Linked DNA regions of Homo sapiens: all the other regions are linked to region 3. Evidence: promoter capture Hi-C in 16 types of primary human blood cells and fetal thymus (Javierre and others, 2016). All regions are on one chromosome and are shown on one strand. The core of a region is centred on a gene start or on the middle of the fragment in contact, and the rest is flanking DNA. Distances in the headings are between cores, read along the strand shown.

Region 1 (4,684 bases), core at 961-3,460, 490 kb before region 3:
CAGAGTACTCTTTTTCCATCATCTATGCAAATATTCTAATTTTGGAAAATTCCTCTTTGATCAGCAATTGATGAGACTTCAAGGAGGGTAGATAATATGGATGAGAGGAAACTTAGAGAATCCTGTGGTTGCAAGATGGTGGCATTGAGTTGTTGTATTATCTAATGAAGACACCTGAAGAGCATTCGCATCACTTCTGGCTGTCATATACAGGCCATCATATCTTAAGGAAGTATCTAGAGCAGTGAGGATAATAGCTATTTACAGATAGTATCTTAAGCTTTTTGGTAAGGCGTTGGTGAAGATTCCCATTTGATGTTCTCAATGGCTCTGAGAGGCAGGAATTACTTTTATTAGGAAACTGCATTATAGATGACAGTAATCTCTGTTTTCTGTAGAGTGGCTTAAAACACGTATTAATGATGAACAATAGTTGAGGTTGAATGCAGAAGGATTTATTTTATTGAACTGTAATAGTCTAGGGCAAGGGCCAGCACACTGGCTTGTGGGATAAATCTTTATGTTTTTAGTGATCCACTAGCTGAGGATGGTTTTAACATTTTTAAATGGTTGGAGAAAATCAAAAGAGTAATACTTTGTGACAAGTGAAAATTATATAAAATTCAAATTTTAGTGTCCATAAATAAAATGTTATTGGAAGACAGCCGTGCTCATTTGTTTACTTATGTCTGGCTGCTTTCGCACTACAACAGTAGAGGTGAGTAGTTGCAGCAGATCCACGAAGCCTGAAATATTTATTATCTGGCCCTTCGCAGAAAAAGTTTGCTGATCACTGGACTAGCGTCATTTTCTGCCTTCTTAGTTTTTATATTATGCAGAGATGTCCAAAAACACACTTGTTTTCAATATAAATATACTTTCTATACATTTATCTCAAATCTACTATAATATGTCTTTCTTCTTAAACCCCCCATTGTAATTATTTAATTTTCATTTGTGACAAATAATTTGCATCTGATCATGACTTAGAATTTTGCTGGTAAGATTTAAGTGTTTTTGATTCTTTATCATTTTCACAATAATAATGAAAAAGGGCCTCATGTCTTTATTTTGTACAGTTTTATCTGAATTTATTCTTAACTGCATTTAGAAAGACCTCCACCTGTTGTTTTGCATCTTGTTTTCGTTCTGGTGTATTATTTTATGATGGTAACTACTCTCCAAAAACGGACTTTTTATTTGCATGTCCCAGATTTTGCAGCTTACTAGTGACTTCCCCTTTACCTCATTTCTTCTCTGCCTAGTGTAAAATGCCAGTTGACAAAGCTTTGCAGATAGTATCGTAACTCTTCTCTAAAGTGAGAAATCCTCAGCTGGAAGAGAATGGTGTCTTTCTGAAGTATTCTCTGCCATCTGGATTTTGGGATCCAGCTTTTGCTTACTGTCAGATACAGATTAATATTCATGATTATTAAGAATGAAATCGGGGAATAAATTAACATTTTCAAAATGCTTGAAAATGTTTTATCTAGTTGACATGTGGAATGACTCTGAGCTAAGTAAGAGTTATATTTGAATAGCAGGACTCCAAACAACATTTCCTTTATACATCATCACATTATTGAAGGATAACAAGAAATGCACTTTGCATAGCTAGGGACACTTTGTCTCATTACTATAAGCAGATCCTGTTGAGACATTCTGCCCCGTGGTGAGAAGTCAAGGTGTGGGAATACAAGCCTGTGATGACTTCCTAAAATAAGCTTATTTCCAGCGCAGATGAATTTGTAGACTTTCCTAGCTTCCCAGGTATCATGAACAGGAGATGGGAGCACAAACCTGATACCAAATGATTTTACTTGTGTCATACATGATCTTTATAATATGGAGAATTTGCCAGCAATTAATTCCGGAACCTGTTTGGAGGCCCTCAGCTTCTCTGCCTGCTGGTTGTCATCCTCACATCCCTGCTGTTCTGACGGTGCCACCTCTCAGTCCATCTCTCACGTGCTTTTCTTGTAGGGGTACCAGTTTGAGGAGGAGAACCCCTTGCGTGATCACCCTCAGCCTTTTGAAGAAGGGCTGCGGCGCCTTCAGGAGGGGGACCTGCCAAATGCTGTGCTGCTTTTTGAGGCAGCTGTGCAGCAGGATCCTAAGCACATGGAAGTGAGTGACTCCATAGTCTCATTTCTGGCTAGAGACTGCTTCCTCCATCTTGAGAAAGGCCCCAAGGAGAGTAGTGCAGATGGGTTAGGGCCTGGGTGATGGCCTAGGATAGGGGCTTGAGAGCGAGATGGTGAGTGGGAGAAGCCAGGGGGAAGGGCGAATGGAGAGGTGAATATGGGGTGATGGAATCTGTCAACTTCCCTCTAGGCTTGGCAGTATCTGGGTACCACCCAGGCAGAGAATGAACAAGAACTATTAGCCATCAGTGCATTGCGGAGGTGAGTACACTGAAAGGTGTGGGTGAGGTGCTTCCAAGGCTCTGCATATAACCTTTTGAATGACAGAAGCCCAGACCTGGATCCTTGTCTTCTTTCTGAGTGCTATCAAGAGTGTTTTCTCATGCTGAAACTCTGAGGGTTGGAGTGAATTCCATTCCTTCATCGGCTTTTGATTTTATTTGCGGCTTTGGTTGGCTCCTTGCCTGCTAAAACCTTCCCCTTAGATCTGTAACTTTATTATTAACTCATGTCAGAGGAGTCACAGGTGAGGCCATTGTGACTCTGCATTTCAAAGCTTGGCTTGGATCCCAGGGTGCTCACATGTGCCAGTGTCAGTCATTGCAGATATCAAGTCTGCCCATCCCTGATCAAACAGGTGTCTGGAGCTAAAGCCAGATAACCAGACAGCACTGATGGCGCTGGCTGTGAGCTTCACCAACGAGTCCCTGCAGCGACAGGCCTGTGAAACCCTACGAGACTGGCTGCGGTACACACCAGCCTATGCCCATCTGGTGACACCTGCTGAAGAAGGGGCTGGTGGGGCAGGACTGGGCCCCAGCAAGCGTATCCTGGGATCTCTCTTGTCTGAGTGAGTATGAGGGGTTCCTAGGATGAGGAATTACAGTAACCTAAGTCCCAGTAGGAGGGTGACCTTGGTTTTGGAAGTTTGGATGGATTGAGACTGAAGGGTCCTGAGAATGGGATGGGAAACCTAGGATCAAGTTGAAGGAGGTCTGCATTCTACAGTTCAGTGCTAGGATGAAATAGAAAAACAGGCTTCTATATTGGACTTTGAGAGTAGAAGAGATGACTGATAGATTGATGAATGTTGGGGATATGGTTGATCAATGAAGAAATTAATTTGGGGGGATGGGAATAGAGACATTCATCTACCTACTTTGTGTTTTTTTCCTTTTCATCCAGCTCCCTGTTTCTTGAAGTGAAAGAGCTCTTCCTGGCAGCTGTGCGGCTGGACCCTACCTCCATTGACCCTGATGTGCAGTGTGGCTTGGGAGTCCTTTTCAACCTGAGTGGGGAGTATGACAAGGCCGTGGACTGCTTCACAGCTGCCCTCAGCGTTCGTCCCAATGTGAGCCCAGGGGAGGAATGGAAATGGGACATGACTGTGTACCTTATTGAAGAGCCATTTGTTGGGAAGCTGGGTTTGATGGTGCATGCCTGTAGTCCCAGCTACTTGGGAGGCTGAAGTGGGAGGATCACTTGAGCCTGGGAGTTCAAATCCAGCCTGGGCAACATAGCAAGACCCTGCCCACCCCCACAAAAAAGAATAATTTGTTCAGACTTTTGGAGTCTTGGGGTATTTCATTCCAGTGTTCCATGTACTGACTGCCTTGGGAGGACTGGGAAAAGAAGGCTGGGAGTGTAGGGTCATCTGGACATAAGAGAGTCTGCATAGGGTGAGAGGGGCTACATTGTAGCCACACACCGAACTGTTGAGAATGGAATGGGACGAAACATGTTAGCTAACAGAGTAGTGAAACAGCTGGAGTAATGTGCAGAGTTTGAGCTGAGTCGGTGGAGTAATGTGCAGAGTTTGAGCTGAGTCAAGCTGTTCCCATCCGTTCTGCATCCCTATCCCAGGACTATTTGCTGTGGAATAAGCTAGGCGCCACCCTGGCCAATGGAAACCAGAGTGAAGAAGCAGTAGCTGCGTACCGCCGGGCCCTCGAGCTCCAGCCTGGCTATATCCGGTCCCGCTATAACCTGGGCATCAGCTGCATCAACCTCGGGGCTCACCGGTGAGAGTATCTATTGAGAAATGAATGAATGAGCTTTTTCTCCCTGCCTTTGGCCCTAGCTCCTTATTCTTAGATCCTGTTTGACTAACCAGCCCTAGCTTTCTCCCTCCCACTGCTAGCTGACCTGCTTCCTTCCATTGTTGTTCAGCTTAACAGCTCTCATTCCTCTTCTTCCTTACAGGGAGGCTGTGGAGCACTTTCTGGAGGCCCTGAACATGCAGAGGAAAAGCCGGGGCCCCCGGGGTGAAGGAGGTGCCATGTCGGAGAACATCTGGAGCACCCTGCGTTTGGCATTGTCTATGTTAGGCCAGAGCGATGCCTATGGGGCAGCCGACGCGCGGGATCTGTCCACCCTCCTAACTATGTTTGGCCTGCCCCAGTGACAGTGGGACGGGCTGCCCTGTGAGTGTCCACCTGGAGGGATCCCCGCTTTGGATGTGATTCCCTCTCCCCAAATGGGCCTACCAAGGGGGCGGGCTGATGACCATAAGCGGTACGGCCTTTCAGGAGCTGCCTCAA
Region 2 (4,486 bases), core at 1,127-3,626, 430 kb before region 3:
TTGGTCTGAGGTGGGGCTCAGGCATAGATCTTTTGAAAAATGCCCTGGGGATTCTGATGGATATCCAAGGTTGAGACTAATATTGAGACTTCTAGCACTTTGGGAGGTCATGGCAGGCACATCACTTGAGGCCAGGAGTTCGAGACCAGTCTGGCCAACATGGTGGAACCCTATCTCTACTAAAAATATAAAAATTAGCCAGGCATGATGGGGCGCACCTGCAATCCCAGCTATTCAGGAGGCTGAGGAATGAAAATTGCTTGAACCGGGGAGGTGGAGGTTGCAGTGAGCTGAGATTCTGCCACTGCACTCCAGCCTGGGCAACAGAGCGAGACTCTGTCTCAAAAAAAAAAAAAAAAAAAAAAAAAAAAGAAATACCTGAAAAAAAAGAAAGAAAAATAAATACCTGAGACTGGGTAACTGGGTACTTTATACAGAAAAGAGGTATATATACACACAAATATACACATATATATATTTCAGAAAATTTTTTAAAAAGAAGAGACTTCCAGATATTCTGTAGTAAAGAGAATATAGGTGAAAGACTGTGTGTGGAAGCAGAGAATTAATGTAAGTTGAACCTGGTAAACAGAAGAATCATTTCAAATAACATTCCCCCACAGAGAAATTTGAGCAATCTTAATTGCCAGACCTCCTGAGAACATAAAAGCTTTACCTGCCAAGAAAACTTGGCTCAAGAAACACCAACTAATAAAATGTAAGACTTTCTATCTTCCAAGCTAACTAACATGTATTGAATTGGTAATATGTACCAGATATTGTATACTAAGCAATTCACTAGATGGTCTAGTATCTTCATAACAATTTCATCTTATCTGTGAGTAAGACCCAATTTAGAGATGACAGTACTCATCTTGGAGAGATTTAGTGTCTTATGTAATGCCACACAACTATTAAGTAGCAGAGGTGCGTCTCTCTGATTCGAAGTCTATGATCATTGCTGCTGTAAGACCTAGTTTGCTGAGGTTACAAAATGGCCAGTCTAATATTTAAACTACTGCTCTCTAGGAAAGTGCTCTTGGGTTCTGTTATGAAAAACTACCACCAGCCGGCCATGGAGGCACATGTCCTTAGTCCCAGACACTCAGGAGGCCGGTGTGAGAGGATCACCTGAGCTCTGGAGGTTGAGGCTGCAGTGAACCACAATGGCACCATTACACTCCAGCCTGGGCAATAGTGTGAAAAACTGTCTCAGAGAAAAAATGATTTCCCAGAGATTGGCAAAGAAAAAAAGGAGGAAAGAAACAAAGTTGAAAGAAAGAAAGAAAGAAAGAGAAAGAAAGAAACTTCCAGAAATAAAATCAATCTAGAACACTGTGGTAAAACAACTGTGGTAGTTATTACCCAGCTATCCACCCCTGTATTAGTCCATTCTCTTATTGTTATAAAGAAATACCTGAAAAAAAAGAAAGAAAAATAAATATCTGAGACTGGGTAACTGGGTAATTTATACAGAAAAGAGGTTTAATTGGCTCATGGTTCTGCAGGCTGTACAGGAAGCATAGCAGCTTCTGCTGCCTGGGGGACCTCAGGAAACTTACAATCATGACAGAAGGCAAAGGGGCAGCCAGCACTTCACATAGCCGGAGCAGGAGGAAGAGAGATGGGAGAAGGTGCTACATACTTTACACACTTTTAAATAACCAGATCTCATGATAACTCACTGGCTATCAGCACCCATGATCCAATCTGCCCCCATGATCCAATCACCTCCCACCAGGCCCCATTTCCAACACTGAGAATTATAATTCAACATGAGATTTGGTGGGGACACAGATCCAAAGCATATCAACCCCCCAGATAGTACTACAATTTCCACTTGGGCCTTGTGACAAGCTCTGGCCAATGAATTATGAGCTGGAATGATGTATACCATGTCTAGGCTGGAGCACATAATTGCTTCCTTTCCCACACTTATGATGGGCGATCCTTCAGATAATGGTTGTTCTATCAGCCAGGTCACAGAAGATCTCTCAGCCAACCCATGCTGAACAAGTAGTGAGAGCAAAAGATTGTGATGTTATAGACCACGGAGATTTGGGGGATTCTTTATTATGTAGCATAGCGTAGTTCATCCTGACTGATACAAACTGCATCCTTCCTCTCTGAGTTTGTCTAGAGATGACAAATTACCAGCTCTACTTATGCATCACACATGCCCAAAAGTGTGTGTGTGTGTTGTGTATGTGCTTTATTTTGTTGCTAATAAATCTATTAAAAGTGGAAAACTCTAAGTCCATCAGCAGAAAACATTCCTGTAGATATTTCTTCAGTACAAAGGATGTCAGTTGTTCAATCTGACAAGGTAATTAATGAATGAGAAACTCCAGAATAGCCACATCCAGACCACAAATACCTCCCTTGGAGAAAGATGCATATGTGGGCCAAGCAAGGGCAAAAGGAAGGTCCCTAAAGAAGAGCCCACACATGTTGATGTTGCTCTGGGAGAAATATATTAATTTATTTAACAAATAAAAAAGCTACTATGTTCCAGGCATTGTCCAAAGTGCAAAAAATAGAATAGTGAACAGAACAGACAAAAATCTCCCTTTTTATAGAGTTTATATTCCAATGGCGTGAGGGAAGATAATGACATGGCTCTAAAAACATTTAATTGTTCCAGTATAGACTTTCCCCATTTCTCATGATCTGTTCATCCAGCTGAATAAATAAGAAATGTGACAAGCCCATCACCCCCCACTTACTGACAGGGTAAAGTCTGAAGCAATATATGGGGTAATCCAACCTACACCATCTGGGGCCCTGAAATGCAGATCATTAATTTGGATTAAACCCTTAAATACTGGTTTCTGATTTCCATTCATAGGAAACAACAGCTCTTTCTTCTTCTGGCTGCACCTGGGGTTCTGCCCACTGGCCTAGAGGAAGAAATGGAATTCATGTTTTGATCACCACATCTGGCATCTGAATCCCTTCATCTTCTTGAAAACCTCTGAAGATCTGAGTACTGTTTAAGAGCAGACTCCCTAAGGCAATTATCCTCTCAGGCCAGAAGTCTCAGGAGGTAGAGGTTGGAGTCTATGGTAGCACCATCTTTGACTCACTGGTCTGTCTGCATAGAAAATACTGCAACTCATGTTTAGCTATTGTCTAATGTATGTGCCATCAGCTCCTAAGGGGACAAAGACAGAGTGACAGCCCCTTCCTGTGACGGTTACTATGGGACTGAACGAAGGAGGACGAATGCAGAAATGAAGACAAAGACAAAAGATCTGTTTTAAAAGAAGGGGTGGGGGGCTCCTTGTTTCTAGTGAGCAAGGGCCCTGAGCTTCTACAGCCCTTTGTATTTATTACGTAGAATCAACAGGGAGGAAAGGTAATGGTTGGTCAGCTGCTTGATTTATCACAGGTTCACCTAATTGCTTTTTTTATACTACAGGCTTCAGATATTCCTATAGATAACCACAAGGAACACTGCGCTTGGGGCGTGACTGCCTCAGCATTCCTTCTGGCAGCAGATGCAGTTTGCCAGTTTGCCAACTCCCGCTTTCATGAGAACAGTTTGCTATTTGCTCATATAGCCTCCAGTGGTATACTGAGTTGGTCATGACCCTCATTCTTTTGGCCTCCAACACTTTCCCATTTCCTTTATTCCAATAACTGTGTGCTGTTATGTATCTGTACCTTGTGTACCTCTAAACTCTTCACTGAGTGTGATACAAAGTACATTAATTAGTAAATATTTGAGTAGTAAATAATCCTGGGTTTCAACCAAATATAGATTGATCCAGACACATAATGTTAAGTCACAAAGGAGGGAGGTCTGTTCAGCTTCCTGTCTTGCCTCACGGCTCCTTTCTGGTACTGTGCACTGTGGGCCAACAATGTTAGTTACTAGTCTAAGACTATACAAGGCCTAATGTGGTTAGTCATTCTTATATTAGTAAAGCTCAACAGCAAATAATGGTTGATTTACTGATTGTCAAATACTATTTCTCACTAAAGGAAACCAGAACTCTTTAGCGAAATGGCTGACTTCAGAACTGTGACAGGAAATGTACAAGATGAACCTGGGACATCTTATTTGTGCCAGAAAATAAGAAAGCTTCCAAAGACAACTGAGTCATGTCAAAAAAGGGACACAGAAACCAGCCTGAAGGGGCTCCCTCCTGAGTCACTTTGGGACAAAAATTTGAGCATTAAAAAAAATGACTACATATGTATGCATATGTATATAAATATATATAATTGCATATTTATGAGTTCACAATCATACTTTAAAAACTCATTAGTCACCACTGCAAGTTGGTAGGGTACCAACCTGTTATGCTGAAAGTTGGTAATAATAATAAAGACAAAGAATCAAGCATGAAAATAAGGCTTGGTCCTAGGCAATTTACTTAACCTCTCAGAGCTTGTTTCCTCATTTATAAAATAATAGTACTGGTAGTGCCTAGTTCACAGGATTTTTGTGAGGATTAGATAAAATAATAACACATGAGAT
Region 3 (4,750 bases), core at 439-2,938:
TCTAGAAGGAATAGACTACTATGAGCTTGGAGTTGAGTGTGCAAGGAGAGGGTGTAAAAGGTGAGACTGGGGAAGTAAGCAGCAGGGTCAGAACAGGCAGGGCATGGTGGGTCAACTCTTGCAGAATTTTGCAGACGAGAATTTTACGTGGAGGAGCAGTACGACTCAATACGCATTTTTAAAAGGTAATTCTGGGCTGGGTGCGGTGGCTCAGGCCTGTAATCCCAGCAGTTTGGGAGGCTGAGGCAGGCGGATCACCTGAAGTCAGGAGTTCAAGACCAGCCTGGCCAACATATAGTGAAACCCTGTCTCTACTAAAAAATTAAAAAATTAAAAAATTAGCTGGGCTTGGTGACACACGCCTGTAATCCCAGCTACTTGGGAAGCTGAGGCAGAAGAATCACTTGAACCCAGGAAGCGGAGGTTGCAGTGAGCTGAGAAAGTGCCACTCTACTCCAGCCTGGGGGACAGAGCGAGACTCTCAAAAAAAAAAAAAAAAAAAAAAGGCAAACTTTATCTTGTATTCTCAAGGCCATACACAGTTCCTGGCTCACCATAGGTATCCAATAAGTGCTTCTTGGACAAATAAATATTCAAATCTTCTCTCCAGTTGCTGTAAAACTAACCAAGGCTCTAAATTCTGCATCTGAAACACCCGGGAGGTTGTATAGACATGCAGATTCTCAACACCCATTTCAGACTTTGAATAAGAATTGGGTGGGGAGAACTAGGGGCAGGAATGGGGTTGGAGGATCTACTGTTAATGGAAGACCTAAGTTATTTGGTGGGTGGTCAGTTTGGGAAAGTACTGGATCCCACTCACTGAGATCCTTTTAAAAGGATATGACAGTTGTATATATTATTGCTCTCTATTCACAAATCTAGAATAACCTTTGCCACCCAACAAGAGTAGCCAGGAGGTACAAATAAGGGAAGCAGGACTCCTGGGCAAACCAACCTCAAAATTTTCATACCCTGCTTGCCACATGGAAGACGGCAGGATGTGTATATATGGGCTGCAGGGTGGGAGACTGAGCTCTGATTCCTCCCTCACCTCTTTCATCTCAACTGAAGCACAAAGCAGTTGATTCAGAAAACAAAAACCTATTTCAAATCCTGACTTTGTTCTCACACACTAGCTGTATGATCTTGAATAGATTACAGGTTACCTACTGTCTGAGCCTAATTTCCTTACTGTTAGGAACTTGATAAGAATATCTAACTTCCTCTCAGGATCGTGGCTGGAATTAAATGAGACAAAATATGAAAAATACCAGCACAAGGCCATCAGTAATTGTCATTTCCTATTGTCCTTTCCTTTCTTCACACCACCCAGTTCCAGATGTTTTTCTGGATAACACTCTATTTCCTTACCTTGGTCTGGGAGAAAGCGAAGTACATTCCCGCGGACGCCCAGCTCCTTTACGTAGCATAAGTCTCGGGAGACCCCAGTGGTCGCTGCTGCCTCGCGATCCTGGAAAATTTTCTTCAAGATATAAGGCACAGGTTGGAACTTCTGGGGTGAAGGCGCCTTATCTAAGCCCAGAAATTGGAGAAAGACATATTCTTGAAATTGGACTGCCTGGCCCAAAGCCAGAATTAACAGGAAGCTGAAAGCCAAATCTGGCAAGAAACGAAGCATGGCCTCTGGAGTGGCTGTCAGACCGGGGAGAGCTCCACTGCCAGACTGCCCAACAATTCAGAGGCTGCTAATTTATCTGATGTAAGATAATCAAGTGTGAATTGCTCTCTTCCCAGCTCCTCAAAGGCCATTGGATGTGAAGAGGGAATTTTTTTTTCTCTTCTCTTGCTCTACTCTTCCAGGAAAAAGTTCACAGAACAAAGATTACCAATGCATGGACATAAATTCTACAACAATGTGAGGTTGTCAGCAGTAGACAGAGTGAAAAGGAGACATGCATTTATTCATTTAACAAACAGTTACTAAGCATCTATTATGTGCACGGTGCTGAGATAGGTGCTAGGAATAGAGCAGTGAATAATTCATAGACTTGTAATTAATCATCTACATAGACCAAGCTTGTCCAACCTGCGGCCGGAGGGTCACATGAGGCTCACGATGGCTTTGAATGCAGCCCCACACAGATTCATAAACTTCCGTAAAACATTATGAAACTTTCTTGTGATTTTTTTAAGCTCATCAGCTATCATTAGTGTTAGTATATTTTACGTGTGGCCCAAAACAATTCTTCTTCTTCCAATGTGACCCAGGGAAGCCAAAAGATTGGACACCCCTGGATTAGACAAATACTCAAGTAGATTTCATTATTTTATTTTTATTTTTATTTTTATTTATGTATTTATTTATTTTTGAGACAGGGTCTCGCTCTGTTGCCCAGGCTGGAGTGCAGTGGCCTGATCTTGGCTCACTGCAAGCCTCGACCCCCTGAGCTCAAGAGATCATCCCACCTCAGCCTCTGGAGTAGTTGAGACTACAGGCATAGGGCACCACTTCCAGCTAATTGTTTTATTTTTTACAGAGATGGGGCCTTGCCATGTTGTCCAGACTGGTCTTGAACTCCTGGTCTCAAGCAGTCTTCCCACCTCGGCCTCCCAAAGTGCTGGGATTGTAGGCATGAGCCACTACACCCAGCCGCCAGCCTTGTTTCTCACCACCCACCATCCTTAGTGTGGATGCTCTAATTACATTGACCTATTTGTAGCTCTGTGAGCTCATTTCATCTCAGAGCCTTTACACAGACCAAGTTCAAAGGTCACCTCTACTTCCACAGTTTCGACTCACCAAAATAGATTGAGATACTTCTTTCTCCCACTGAGCCATACTTGGGCATCCATTACAGTTTTTTTGTTTTTTTGTTTTTTTTGAGACGGAGTTTCGCTCTTGTTGCCCTGGCTGCAGTGCAATGGCACGATCTCAGCTCACCACAACCTCTGCCTCCCAGGTTCAAGCAATTCTCCTGCCTCAGCCTCCCTAGTAGCTGGGATTACAGGCATGCGCTACCATGCCCGGCTACTTTTGTATTTTTAGTAGAGACGGGGTTTCTCCATGTCGGTCAGGCTGGTCTCAAACTCCTGACCTCAGGTAATCCACCCACCTCGGCCTCCCAAAGTGTTGGGATTATAGGTGTGAGCCACTGCACCCGGCCCTCCATTACAGTTTCTGCAGTGCATTTTACTGTGTTTGCCTCCTTCCTTTTCAGACAACTCACACCTTGAGGATCAGAACTGTGTCTCTTTGCCTAAGTATCTTCAGTGTGTCTTTTTCCCCAAAGTATCTCCACTGGTGAAGAAAGTGTCCGGCAGGTAGCAGACATTTGATAAGTATCTGTGCAAAAAATAAATTAAGGAATTAATTGGTTGCTATTTCTAGAGGTCTCACTCTTTTATATAGTGAGGTCTTCCCCATTTCTTTTTTTTCTTTTTTTTTTTTAGAGACTAGGTTTGGGGAGTGTCTCACTGTGTTGCCCAGGCTGGCCTTGAATTACTGGATCAAGGGAATCTTCTGCCTCAGCCTCCAAGTAACTAGAACTACAGGCAGGTGCCACTGCTCGCAGGTCCCACTTCTCTTATCTCCTGTTTCTATCTTATTTAACACTTTTAAATTAATCTACAATCTTAACCTTTTTTCAACAATAAGAGTAGGTTGTATTTGGGTTTTCTTTATTTGACTTTCCTGACTTAAGGTCAGAAATCAGACTAACTGGTTCAAATTCTGGTTCCACTACTGATTAGTTATGTGACCATGAGCAAGCCACTCAAGTGTAAAATGGGAATAAAATATTCTTCGTTGCTGGGCGCGGTGGCTCATGCCTGTAATCCTAGCACTTTGGGAGGCCGAGGCGGGCGGATCACGAGGTCAGGAGATCGAGACCATCCTGGCTAACATGGTGAAACCCCGTCTCTACTAAAAATACAAAAGAATTAGCCGGGCATGGTAGCGGGTGCCTGTAGTCCCAGCTACTCGGGAGGCTGAGGCAGGAGAATGGCGTGAACCCAGGAGGCGGAGCTTGCAGTGAGCAGAGATCGCGCCACTGCACTCCAGCCTGGGATAGAGCAAGACTCCGTCTCAAAACAAACAAACAAACAAACAAAAACATTCTTTGTTAAGGTGCTGAGGGCAACTCGTAAAATAATGTACAGATGACATTCAGGACAATGTCTGCCGAATGGAAAGCACTCAATAAAAGTTAGCTATTATTATTATCGTCATTATTATTAATTAAAGAGGAGGTCGATCAGGTGCAGTGGCTTGTGCCTGTAGTCCCAGCCGCTTAGAAGCCTGAGGTGGGAAGATCCCTCGAGCTCAGGAGTGCGACGCCAACCTGGGTACTATAGCAAGACCCAGTTCCTAAAGGAAAAAAAAAAGGTTCAGCAGAGCACAAGCTAAGAGAAAAAGAAAAAAAAAAAAAAAAAAAAAAAAAAGGCAGGGAGAGAGGTAGTTTGATCATGGAGGGAAAAAGAAGTAATAGAGAATGTGCAGTTGCCTAGCAGGAAAAGCACCAAATCGGCCAGGGGATCTGAGTTAAGCACAGCATTTCCAATTACGATGTAATCGTAGGCTGGGCGCGGTGGCTCACTCCTGTAATCCCAGCACTTTGGGAGGCCAAGGTGGGCAGATCACCTGAGATCAGGAGTTTGAGACCAGCCTGACCAACATGCTGAAACCCCGTCTCTACTAAAAATACAAAATTAGCCTGGAGTGGTGGCGTTTGCCTGTAATCCCAGCTACTCAGGAGGCTGAGGCAGGATAATCGCTTGAACCCAGGAG

What was found. Contacts are between HindIII fragments. The CHiCAGO score rates a contact against its expected background, and 5 or more counts as called.
Region 1: a contact is called between a fragment that was not itself captured here and the fragment with the promoter of GDF3 in region 3, in 4 of 17 cell types (M0 macrophages, monocytes, non-activated CD4 T cells and 1 more). The highest score is 6.9, in M0 macrophages.
Region 2: a contact is called between a fragment that was not itself captured here and the fragment with the promoter of GDF3 in region 3, in 3 of 17 cell types (M0 macrophages, total CD8 T cells and fetal thymus). The highest score is 5.5, in M0 macrophages.

What each region holds. Positions count from the first base shown.
Region 1 is chr12:7,205,676-7,210,359 of GRCh38, forward strand. PEX5 (peroxisomal biogenesis factor 5) reads left to right here. Exons shown (of 16, transcript NM_001351132.2): 11 at 1,984-2,127; 12 at 2,335-2,405; 13 at 2,782-2,994; 14 at 3,330-3,495; 15 at 4,008-4,165; 16 at 4,347-4,684. The coding sequence ends at 4,548. Among named protein-coding and RNA genes, the nearest start is that of PEX5, 18 kb to the left of the region's middle. The HindIII fragment of the contact is 976 bases long and covers 1,723-2,698 here.
Region 2 is chr12:7,261,931-7,266,416 of GRCh38, forward strand. No RefSeq gene overlaps it. Among named protein-coding and RNA genes, the nearest start is that of ACSM4, 40 kb to the right of the region's middle. The HindIII fragment of the contact is 3,417 bases long and covers 669-4,085 here.
Region 3 is chr12:7,694,087-7,698,836 of GRCh38, forward strand. It overlaps GDF3 (growth differentiation factor 3), which reads right to left and starts at 1,689. Exons shown (of 2, transcript NM_020634.3): 1 at 1,375-1,689. The coding sequence starts at 1,642. RefSeq lists an enhancer at 1-170. The HindIII fragment of the contact is 5,455 bases long and covers 1-2,038 here.